Regions from separate parts of the Homo sapiens genome. Here all the other regions are linked to region 4. The links are contacts of gene promoters, found by promoter capture Hi-C in blood cells and fetal thymus (Javierre and others, 2016). All regions are on one chromosome and are shown on one strand. The core of a region is centred on a gene start or on the middle of the fragment in contact, and the rest is flanking DNA. Distances in the headings are between cores, read along the strand shown.

Region 1 (2,700 bases), core at 15-2,514, 220 kb before region 4:
ACTTGAGGCCAAAAGTTCAAGACCAGCCTGGTCAACATGGCAAACCCCGTCTCTACTAAAAATACAAAAATTAGCCAGGCATGATGGCGCGCACCTGTAGTCCCAGCTACTCAGGAGACTGAGGCAGGAGAATTGCTTGAACCAGGGAGGCAAAGGTTGCAGTGAGCCAAGATTGCGCCACTGCACCCCAGCCTGGGCGACAGAGCATGACTCTGTCTCAAAAAAAAAAAAAGTGTCAACCTGATTGGATTGAAGGATGCAAAGTATTGTTTCTGGGTGTTTTTTTGTGACAGTGGTAGCAGAGGAGATTAACATTTGAGGCAGTGGACTGGGAGAGGCAGCATGGCTAGAAATAGCAGGCAGGAGATGGAAGGGCAGAGTTGCTGAGTCTTCAGGCCTTCATCTTTCTCCCGTGCTCGATGCTTCCTGCCCTGGAACATCAGACTCCAAGTTCTTTGGTTTTTGGACTCTTGGACTTACACTGGTGGTTTGCCAGGGGCTCTCGGGCCTTTGGCCACAGACTGAAGGCTGCACTGTCAGCTTCCCGACTTTTGAGGTTTTGAGACTCAGACTAAGCCACTACTGGCTTCCTTGCTCCTGAGCTTGCAGAGAGTCTATCGTTGGACTTTACCTTGTGATCTTGTGAGTCAATTCTCCTTAATAAACTTCCTTTCATATATACATACATCCTATTAGTTCTGTCCCTTTAGTTCTGTCCCTAATACAAGGTGTTGATCAAAAGCAAGTTCTAGAATGTTCAGGCTGACTCTGGGCACAGTGCCTATGGGTTAGTCCTCCTACAAAAGGAGCAGCACCAGTTCAGTAAAATTGCTACAGAGAGAGAGAGAGAGAGAGAGAGAGAGAGAGAGAGAGAGAGAATGTTCCATAGTGTAGGGAAAAGAAAGAGAGATCAGACTGTTACTGTGTCTATGTAGAAAGGAAAGACATAAGAGACTCCATTTTGAAAAAGACCTGTACTTTAAACAGTTGCTTTGCTGAGATGTTGTTAATTTGTAGCTTTGCCCCAGCCACTTTGACCCAACCTGGAGCTCACAAAAACATGTGTTGTACGAAATCAAAGTTTAAGGGATCTAGGGCTGTGCAGGACGTGCCTTGTTAACAACATGTTTACAAGCAGTATACTTGGTAAAAGTCATCGCCATTCTCTAGTCTCAATAAACCAGGGGCACAATGCACTGCGGAAAGCCGCAGGGACCTCTGCCCTGGAAAGCTGGGTATTGTCCAAGGTTTCTCCCCATGTGATAGTCTGAAATATGGCCTTGTGGGATGAGAAAGACCTTACCATCCCCCAGCCCGACACCCATAAAGGGTCTATGCTGAGGTGGATTAGTAAAAGAGGAAAGCCTCTTGCAGTTGAGATAGAGGAAGGCCACTGTCTCCTGCCTGCCCCTGGGAACTGAATGTCTCAGTATAAAACCCGACTGTACATTTGTTCAATTCTGAGATAGGAGAAAAACCGCCCTATGGTGGGAGGCAAGACATGTTTACAGCAATGCTGCCTTGTTATTCTTTACTCTGCTGAGATGTTTTGGTGGAGAGAAACATAAATCTGACTTACGTGCACGTCCAGTCATAGTACCTTCCCTTGAACTTCATTATGACATAGATTCTATTGCTCACATGTTTGTTGCTGACCTTCTCCTTATTATCACCCTGCTCTCCTACTACATTCCTTTTTACTAAAATAATAAAAATAATAATCAATAAAAACTGAGGGAACTCAGAGACTGGTGCCGGTGCAGGTCCTTGGTATGCTGAGTGCCAGTCCCCTGGGCCCACGGTTGTTTCTCTATACTTTGTCTCTGTGTCTTATTTCTTTTCTCAGTCTCTCATCCCACCTGACTAGAAATACCCACAGGTGTGGAGGGGAAGGCCACCCCTTCACATAGCAGCACCATTAATAATACCCCCAAACTGGGAATTATCCAAATATCCATCAATAGTAGAGTGGATGAATTGCTGCACACTAGAATACTATAAAGCAACGAACATGAATGAATGACCACTACTCATGAATGAATGAAACCGTATAGGGAATCCCACATACATCATACATGTAAAAGAAAACTTGCCTTCTCTCAGATTCCATTTATACAAGTCAGGATAATGGTACCCTTGGAAGGTAGTGACCAGAAGGGGTCTCCAGGGCTTTGGAGTTCTTATAATGTTCTGTTTCTTGATCTGGATGCTGGTTACAGAGTTCATTTGTAAAAAAAAAAATTCACGTTGTACATTCTGATTTATTCATTGTTCATACTGTTTGTATGTTATATTCAATAACACAATTTTTAAGACACCATTAAGGAAATGGAAAGCTGAGAGTAGGAGGAGACATTTGCAACACATAAAAATATCACTTAGGTCTTTGCCTTTACTCTAAATTAAGTAAGGGGCCAGGCGCGGTGGCTCATGTCTATAATCCCAGCACTTTGAGAGGCCAAGATGGACAGATCACCTGAGGCCAGGAGTTCAAGACCAGCCTGGCCAACAGAGTGAAACCCTGTCTCTACTAAAAATACAAAAAAAAAATAGCCAGGCATGGTGGCGCGCAACTGTAGTCACAGTTTCTTGGGAGGCTGAGCCATGAGAATTGCTTGAACCCTGGAGGCAGAGGTTGCAGTGAGCCAAGATCACACCACTGCACTCCAGCCTGGGCAACAGAGTTGAGACTCCGTCTCA
Region 2 (2,700 bases), core at 72-2,571, 200 kb before region 4:
AATAAATCTATAGTTTCCTTATCAATAACCTGAGGGAAAAAAATAAGAAAATATTTAAAACAGGCTCCTTCCTCTGAATAAAGACTCTTTAACTGTCAACTACATTTCTTGAGAAATTTTCATTTAATTTGCCATACCTTGCAACTGAATTTTAATCATCATCCATCCACATGTTATTCCATAAGTATTCTCAACACACATAATAACTAATTTTTCATCTATACATTTAGAAACAAGCATTCAGAACAGTAACAGAAGTATAGCATTCCCAAACAGATTTTTAATATTGCTTTCTTTTCCGATTTTTCTAGTAAACATCTAAACAGTAAAATATAGCCAGCCTATCCCCACACTATTCCCACAGAAAGAGCAGGCACTCCTAAAAGCTTAATGAGAATCCCATGCCTCTGAATCTACTAATTCCATAATCTTAATGCTTTCTATTCTAATTGAGTAATTAAAACTAATTGTCAGACCTCTCCCTTATATAACTCAACAAACTCAAATGCTGTTCAATAGACTTGCAACTGTTCTACCCACCAAGTGCCTTTATAGACTTTAAGACAAAATTAGCCTGTAATCCCAGCCCTTTGGGAGGTGGAGGCAGGCGGAACACTTGAGATTAGGAGTCCGAAACCAGCTTGGTCAACATGGTGAAACCCCGTCTCTACTAAAAATACAAAAATTAGCCGGGTGTGGTGGTGCGTGCCTGTAGTCTCAGCGTGCCTGTAGTCTCAGCTACTTGGGAGACTGAGGCAGGAGAATCACTTGAACCTGGGAGGTAGAGCAGAAATCACACCACTGCACTCCAGCCTGAGCAACAGAGTGAGACTCTGTCATTAAAAAAAAAAAAAAGACAAAATTAAATACTGCTAATGATACCTTGAAAAGAATGAAAATGTCTATCTTTGAGTGATTTTTTATATTCAAAGAATAACTTTCACAGTTTTAAAATATTAAAGAGCTCTGGAGACATACTCTATCTTTCTAGTTGATCTTTGTTTTCTTAAAAAAGCTGTTTTGTTAGATTTCTGGGAGTTAACCTTGGCTTATTTATGACCAAATTCTAAAATGCCACTTATGTGTGTTTAAAGAATCACACTTGGTTGTTAGGAATACAACAGCTATTACTACAACATCAAGAACAAAACTCCATGGCTAACACTGAAAAATATCAGGTTTTATCCTATGATTCCTTTTTTATTTTTCTAAGACTTCAGTCAGGATAAAGCTCTTACCTGTATACACATAACACAAAAATTACATGCTTACAAATTCAGAGATTGTAAGGACCTTAGCATAAAAAAATTCCAATAGTCTCACCAGAAAGGGCAATTTATGCATTTTTACTTACTTACTGGGGGCAGGGGAAGGTGCTGGCTAAACAAATGGTAGGTTTTGTGTTTATCGAAGGAAATTAAGTAGTTTAGGTTTCACCTATTCTAAAAAGCAAACCATTAGATCAAAGCACAGAGATTTTTGCTGGAAGCCAGTCCATTGTAGATAGTGAAAAACCAACTTTTTGAGAGAATGTACTATGAAAATGCCTTTTTATTATTATTTTTTGAGATGGAGTCTCACTCTGTCGCCCAGGCTGGAGTACAGTGGTACAATCTCATCTCACTGCAACCTCCACCTCCCAGGGCACAAGCCATTCTCGTGGCTCAACCTCCTGAGTAGCTGGGATTACAGGCGTGCACCACCATGCCCGGCTAATTTTTGTTGTTGTTGTATTTTTAATAGAGACAGGGTTTCACCATGCTGGCCAGGCTGGTGTCAAGCTCCTGACCTCAGGTGATCTGCCCACCTCAGCTTCCCAAAGTGCTGGGATTACAGGCGTGAGCCACCGCACCTGGCTGAAGATGCCTTTTTTAAAAGGCTGACTGTGGGTACTTAAGATTTAATGATAAATTTAAAAGGAGGTTCCTCTTCTATAGAAGAGGTCTTCACATTCAGCTGAAACTATTGTTCAAGCTATCCTCACATTAGAAAAAGCTGAGTAGCAATTTAGTGACGGGAAAAATGAGCACATTTCATCAAATCTAAAATGCCATCTATCATAATATACCCTCATTCATGTATTACTAAGAATAAACAATACCAATTAAGTTATAATATGTTATACACATCTCATTTTAGACATGCTAAAATGTGGAAAACATGCATCTTACAATTGATGCAATATGGAATCAAGGACACCACCTAGTGGCAACATAGTATAAATGCCAGAACTTAAAAAGTTTTTGGGGAATAAGGCAAGCTTCACCATAATCTGTACTTCTTAAAATCAAATAAGCCTTTCACTAAGCAGCTGAGGGGCAAAAGCACATTTTCATTTTAATGACTTATTGTGGAGATTAAACTGATTTGGCTCTAGGTATCAACCCCAAAACATACTTACTGCGTTTCCTGGCTGGCTTTCCTGCAGTTTGGCAACGGCAACGTTTTCCCTTTCTTCAGGTGCTACCTCAGCAACTCTTTCCCCATCAGTCCTTTCTTCTGTCTCTTTATCCTTATTCAGTCCAGCCCCAGTGGGCTCCTCTTCTATGGGTTCTTTACTCTCTGCCTTCTTCTCCTGGGTCTCTTCTGTTTCTGTAACCATCCTGCTTTCCATGTGCTCTTTGGACTCCCCCAGCTCAGCACATGAGTCTTCTAAAATATGCCTCCCAGAGTCAGTCACCGGGATCTGCAGTTGTTCTG
Region 3 (2,700 bases), core at 138-2,637, 220 kb after region 4:
GCAACATGTCACAGAGGGCACGCAGTGTTTGCTTAGGGCTCCAAGTCAGATGGAACAAAAAAGGAAGGATGGGGAAATTCCTGCTGTAGAAGAGACAACAAATGGCATTTCTGAGAGCATACTCATGTTCCAACTCTCAAACGTTCCACCAGATCTCAATTAGGCTGCTGATACAGATCCCTAAGCATCTGGCTATCATGGAATATTTGCAATGGCCTCGACCTGGCTCTGCCTGCTTGTCTACCCCTTGTCTACCCTTCCTGTGCAATGTTCCAGTTACCCTTGTATAAAGAGCACAGGTAATGGCTATGGCACTTCTTCCTGGCTCTGCCAGGGGCCCCAGACCTGCTGCCCTTTGGTCTGGGTGCTGTCTCCCCCAACCACCGGCACAGTGCTGGACACCCTGGAGGTGCTGCCCAATGGTGCAATCACAGCACAAGCTTAGAGGACAAGAGCCTCAGCAGAAGCACCCCTGACCAAAGCAATGCTTTGCCCTAAACTCAGGACTGAGAATGATGTGGCAGAAAGGCACCAAACCAAGGTCACAAGACTATCGACTCCATTTGTTAGCTGCACAGCTGAGGCAAGGCACAGAATCTTTGGCTGTGCACCCAAGCAAAAACTGAGCACCTAACATACCAGGGTCCTCACCCAACCAGCAGCTGGTGAACTGGGTTCCCTTCTGTGCAGAACAGGCCATGCTACCTGTCCACCTAGGCCACAGAGAGAATGAACTGACCTCACTGCATGCCTCCGGGTGCTCAAACCCTCCCAGGACAGAGCAACTCAAAGGTCTACCGCCATCCTCCTCCCACCAAAATGCTGGAGGGCCCAGCTCATCCCTCCCAAGATGCCCCAGGCATGAGGGCTAAAGTGTCAGGTATCAGATACTCAGAGAACAATACTCCCATGTAAATGTAAAAGAAGGTATTTAAATTCAAGCAAGTGAAAAGGCTTCTTTCTTTTTGGCCTTCACCAGCTCAGTCTACCAGACCAACTTTAAATTCTGAATTAAAACTCTGAATCCACCCTTAATCACCATTACATAAAAATCACAGTTACTTTTAATAATAAAGAGTTTCTTTCACTATCAAGTATACCAAAGGAAAGCCCAGAATGTTGTTATTACTATTTTTTTTTTCAGACAGGGTCTGGGTCTGGGTCTGGGTCTGTCGCCCAGGCTGGAGTGCAGTGGCACTATCTCAGCTCACTGCAACCTCCACCTCCCAGGCTCAAGCAATCTTCCAGCTTCAGCCTCCGGAGTAGCTGGGACTTAACAGGCACGCACCACCACGACCCGCTAATCATTGCATTTTTTTGTAGAGACAGGTTTCACCATGTTGGCCAGGCTGGTCTCAAACTGCTGAGCTTAAGTAATCTGCCCACCCCAGCCTCCCAAAGTGCTGAGATTACAAGCATGCGCCACCAAGCCCGGCCCCAGAATGCTAAACTTGATCAGGTTCAGTTTCCTCCATCCGGCCTCCCCCACAGCTAAGCCTCCTCTAACTTCCTCCACAGCGGTGTTGTTCTAGCCTCAACACAGTCTGGACTTGGGTTTTGTTTGTCTTTCCACCAGAACACGGTACTCTGCCCACCTGTTAAGGCGCCTGGATGTCCCTTTCTCAGAATAACATTTAAAAATGCGTAATAAAAAGGCTCGCAAATGGCCAGTCACGGTGGCTCATGCCTGTAACCCTAGCACTTTGTGGGGCCGAGGTGCATGGATCGCTTGAGCTCAGGAGTTTGAGACCAGCCTGGGCAACATAGTGAGACCCCATCTCAAAAAACAAAACAAACAAAAAGGCTCGAAAAGGAAACACTGAGATAATTATCAAAACATTTGAAAGGTAATTTGGGTACAGTAACCCGTGAGCTTTTAAGCATTAAATAACAAGATCTAGTACAGCCTCTAATAACTGTGATTTTTGTAGCAATGAGAGTAAATTATATTTTGAAAAACTTCCAACTGTAAAGTGATATGAAAATATCTGTAATTATCACTGGTGAAAAAAAAATAGGGACTGCTAATATGCCTTTGCTTTGCTGCTTACATTTATGATTAGAGGAAATAATTTTATCTAGAGGTTAGTGGAGATGGAGATATCAATTTTTTCTTATCTAAACTCATGGACCTCTTGCCTTCTACCTACCATCCCACAGACCCTGGGTTAAGAGCTCCTGCACCAGGAGTGAGAACTTCATAACAGGCTGCCTTGTATATTCAAAGTAAGTTCTAGGTTCCTTAGTGGGCAACAAGGCTCTTCAAATTGTAGGCCCTGTCTACTTCCCTATTCTCATCTTTCTGCTCCACTTCTGTGAATTAACGACTCCTAATCAAGCTTCCACCCTTAGCTGGGTCATCTCGGACTCCTAGGCACACAATGCCTAGAGCACAGCTCCATCAGGTGGCATCCATCCTCTCTTACGGTAACGTTTGTTTACCAGTCATTTCCCGTTTAACCAAACTGGAAATTCCCAAAGGTGGATTCTGTGTCCTTAAAACCTAACAGAGTGCTTAGAACTTAAAAAATGCCTACCAAATAAGCACTGTGTGCCACGTACTGACTTAGGTATGCCCCGAGGACACCAAGATGACAGGCATATTGTGAAATAAGATAACGGAAGTACACCTGGCACTTGGGTATCCACTCGGTAAATGTCGCCCTCCCTTGTACTAAGTACTGAAAATCCACTGAGGGA
Region 4 (2,700 bases), core at 21-2,520:
GTTGCATTTGCTGATGTCCCTCCCTGTCCATTCGCCCTACAAGACTAAGTATCTTTAAGAATCAAACTAACGGGCTTTCATCAGTTTTTCCCACTGACAAAAATCATGTGATTGGTCTCTCCACCATTCGACTAAGTGAATCACCCAATTAAAAAAAAAAAAAACCGCACACTACAATCTTGCTCTAAGACAAGAGACATTTAACAATTAATTATGCGAAAAGCACAGAAGGTACTGTTAGGCCTTACTCTGAGAATTCACTCTTGCACATTGCTTACAATGTAAAATTTTAACCACCTAGAAGTTACTAGAACATAGTGGACATCTCTCCTCAAGAGTTTGACAAGCCGGAGAGGATGATGAGCTTAACACTTTACTTCCTCCTCTCTGCCACATCAATCTGCCGGGGGATCAAGTCCTGTTCCAGTTTATGGTTCCCAAGAATGGCTGGAAAAGCTATGTATGGAACCTCTTGACAGATTTCTTCCACTAAGGGTAAAAATCGGCGGGTTCTGATGTGACAAGCCATGGGAAATAGGAAAAGAAAAGCGTCAGTTAAAAAAATAATAATAATAAAAGGCAATCCCAGAATGGGATCCTTTGGAAGAAAGTGGGCTCATTCTTCCACCAGGGCTCCTGGAAATCCCAGAAGCTAAATCAGGTAAAATGTCCCGGTAACCTCTGGGAGGCGGGACATGACTGCTAAACCAAGGTTGCAGGCCCGTCAGGGGTGTGACCTAGTGGCCAAGCGGGTAGTGACAAACTTCGGGTACCCCCAAGGAGGGAACCCCGCTTGAGTCACCACAGCCCAGTATGAGTGGGTGAGGGCAAGTCTGGTCCAGTCACCCTGGGGACCACAGCCCACGCCGGGCTCCCGGGGCCGGGCAGAAGCGGCGGGGGTGGGGCTGGCCCGGCTCACCTTTGAAGAAGCGCAGTGCCAGGCCGTACAACTCCTCCAGGCCGAAACCCCAGCGCTGCTCCAGCCGCCGCGCCTCCTCCGCCGCGCCCCCAGCCGCCGCCTCCCCGGGCTCGGGCTGCTCCCCTGAGGCGCCCGGGCCGCGACCGGATCCAGGTGGCGAGGGCGGTGGCAGCGGTGGCGGCAGCAGCGGGGCGCCCTCCGCCCCAGGCCGCTCCTCCGGGTCCGGGCTGAGCGTGAGGCCGTCGACGGACACCTCGAGTCGCTCTGCGTTCAGCACCGCCGCCATCTCCGGCTGCTGCACCTCCTCAGCGGGGACAGACGGCAGCCACGTATCGACTTCCTGCTGACCTCTGACCTCCGCTTACCGACACCGGAACTTCCGCTGCTGAGGAGGCTGGAGGGCTCCGGGAGAGGGGCTGAGGCCTGGCGCCCCACCCCCTCCGGAATCGTCAGTTGCCCTGGCTCAGCGACCACCCTTCAGGCTCCCCAACTCCCGTTGGTCCCGAACTCCCCTCCCCCGCACCCCATCCTTTCGGATCCCAGTTGCTCCAGGTGGGCGGGTGCTACCACCCCCACCGCTCGGTTCGGTGCTGCGGCTGTCAGTGCCCAGCAGGGGCGGGGTCAGTGGAGCCCCGCGCGGGGGTCGGAGTAGGGAGGATTGACGAGGTCGGCCAGCACCCAACCCTCCAGGTCAGAGGCCCTTCACATTTGCAGGGGCCTGCGTGGTTGGCAGAGCTCTTTTGCCCACCACCATCTCGTTTGGCCTTCACAGCAACTCTAAGGAAATGCAGGGCAAATTCCCAATTTTTTTAAAAGGGGAAACTGAGACTGCAGAGAAATTCAGTGACTTTGAGGTTGCAGACGGGGCTGATCCTGGTTTTGCAGGAAGCGCAGCTCATACAATTTGTGGGGACCCTCATTAGGAAAGAGTACAAAAAGTTACGCGCAGAAGGGTAGGAAAGTGAATGTATATTTAGAAAGAGAAAGAAAAAACAAATGATATTTTAAAAGTTAATAAAACCCACAAACATCACACACATAACCGTAATATTTTCATTGACTGCCTGATATTCTTCTACAGGGCGTCTGAGAGCCCAGAAACCTATTTTTTTCTAAAAGATTGAAGTCGCCCCCGACATTATGTATATTCACCTGTGTTTCCAGACTTTGGGAGCACCATTTATGATCATTTTTCCCACCTTTGTTTTGGCTGCGTACTTCTGATTGCCTTTTCCTATAACAATTATTTTGTAACTTTTTTTTTTTTTTTTTTTTTTTGTTTTTTGCAGACAGTCCTGCTGTGCCACCCAGGCTGGAGTGTAGTGGTGCAATTCGGTTCACTGCAACCTCTGCCTCCCGGGTTCAAGCAACTCTCCTGCCTCAGCCTCCCAAGTAGTTGGGATTACAGGTGCTCACCACCACGCCCGGCTAATTTTTGTAAACTTAGTAGAGTCAGAGTTTCCCCATGTTGGCCAGGCTGGTCTCAAACTCCTGACCTCATGTGATCTGCCCGCCTCAGCCTCCCCAAAGTGCTGGGATTACAGGTGAGAGCCACCGCGCCCGGCGTATTTTGTAATTCTCTATAAAGAAAAGAGAAAGATCAGTCTTTTCTCCAGCATGGCTGATTAAATTTGTTTCTTAATAATTGTTTATAAATTTATTTCAGCATCACAACTCATTACTGATATTGTTAACGTACTTTTTTAGGGTTATTGTTCAGTTTGGGAAACCTCTCTCAAGTTTCATGGATGTGCTATGAGATTTTTATGGCCGTTTGGCTG

What was found. The method cuts DNA at HindIII sites, captures the fragments that hold promoters and counts their contacts. A CHiCAGO score of 5 or more calls a contact.
Region 1: a contact is called between a fragment that was not itself captured here and the fragment with the promoter of ACBD3 in region 4, in 1 of 17 cell types (neutrophils). The highest score is 5.0, in neutrophils.
Region 2: a contact is called between a fragment that was not itself captured here and the fragment with the promoter of ACBD3 in region 4, in 1 of 17 cell types (activated CD4 T cells). The highest score is 6.1, in activated CD4 T cells.
Region 3: a contact is called between a fragment that was not itself captured here and the fragment with the promoter of ACBD3 in region 4, in 1 of 17 cell types (total B cells). The highest score is 5.5, in total B cells.

Annotation. Positions count from the first base shown.
Region 1 is chr1:225,964,954-225,967,653 of GRCh38, forward strand. No RefSeq gene overlaps it. Among named protein-coding and RNA genes, the nearest start is that of LEFTY2, 25 kb to the left of the region's middle. The HindIII fragment of the contact is 9,237 bases long and covers 1-2,700 here.
Region 2 is chr1:225,985,495-225,988,194 of GRCh38, forward strand. It overlaps SDE2 (spliceosome associated SDE2), which reads right to left. Exons shown (of 7, transcript NM_152608.4): 6 at 2,402-2,700; 7 at 1-29. Among named protein-coding and RNA genes, the nearest start is that of SDE2, 12 kb to the right of the region's middle. The HindIII fragment of the contact is 1,874 bases long and covers 385-2,258 here.
Region 3 is chr1:226,404,169-226,406,868 of GRCh38, forward strand. All of the region lies in intron 1 of PARP1 (poly(ADP-ribose) polymerase 1), which reads right to left. Among named protein-coding and RNA genes, the nearest start is that of PARP1, 2.6 kb to the right of the region's middle. RefSeq lists an enhancer at 2,490-2,549. The HindIII fragment of the contact is 1,899 bases long and covers 439-2,337 here.
Region 4 is chr1:226,185,471-226,188,170 of GRCh38, forward strand. It overlaps ACBD3 (acyl-CoA binding domain containing 3), which reads right to left and starts at 1,271. Exons shown (of 8, transcript NM_022735.4): 1 at 920-1,271. The coding sequence starts at 1,205. LOC101927247 (a long non-coding RNA gene) reads left to right here and starts at 2,426. Exons shown (of 2, transcript XR_001738504.2): 1 at 2,426-2,463. RefSeq lists silencers at 762-1,241, 878-1,172. The HindIII fragment of the contact is 12,408 bases long and covers 1-2,700 here.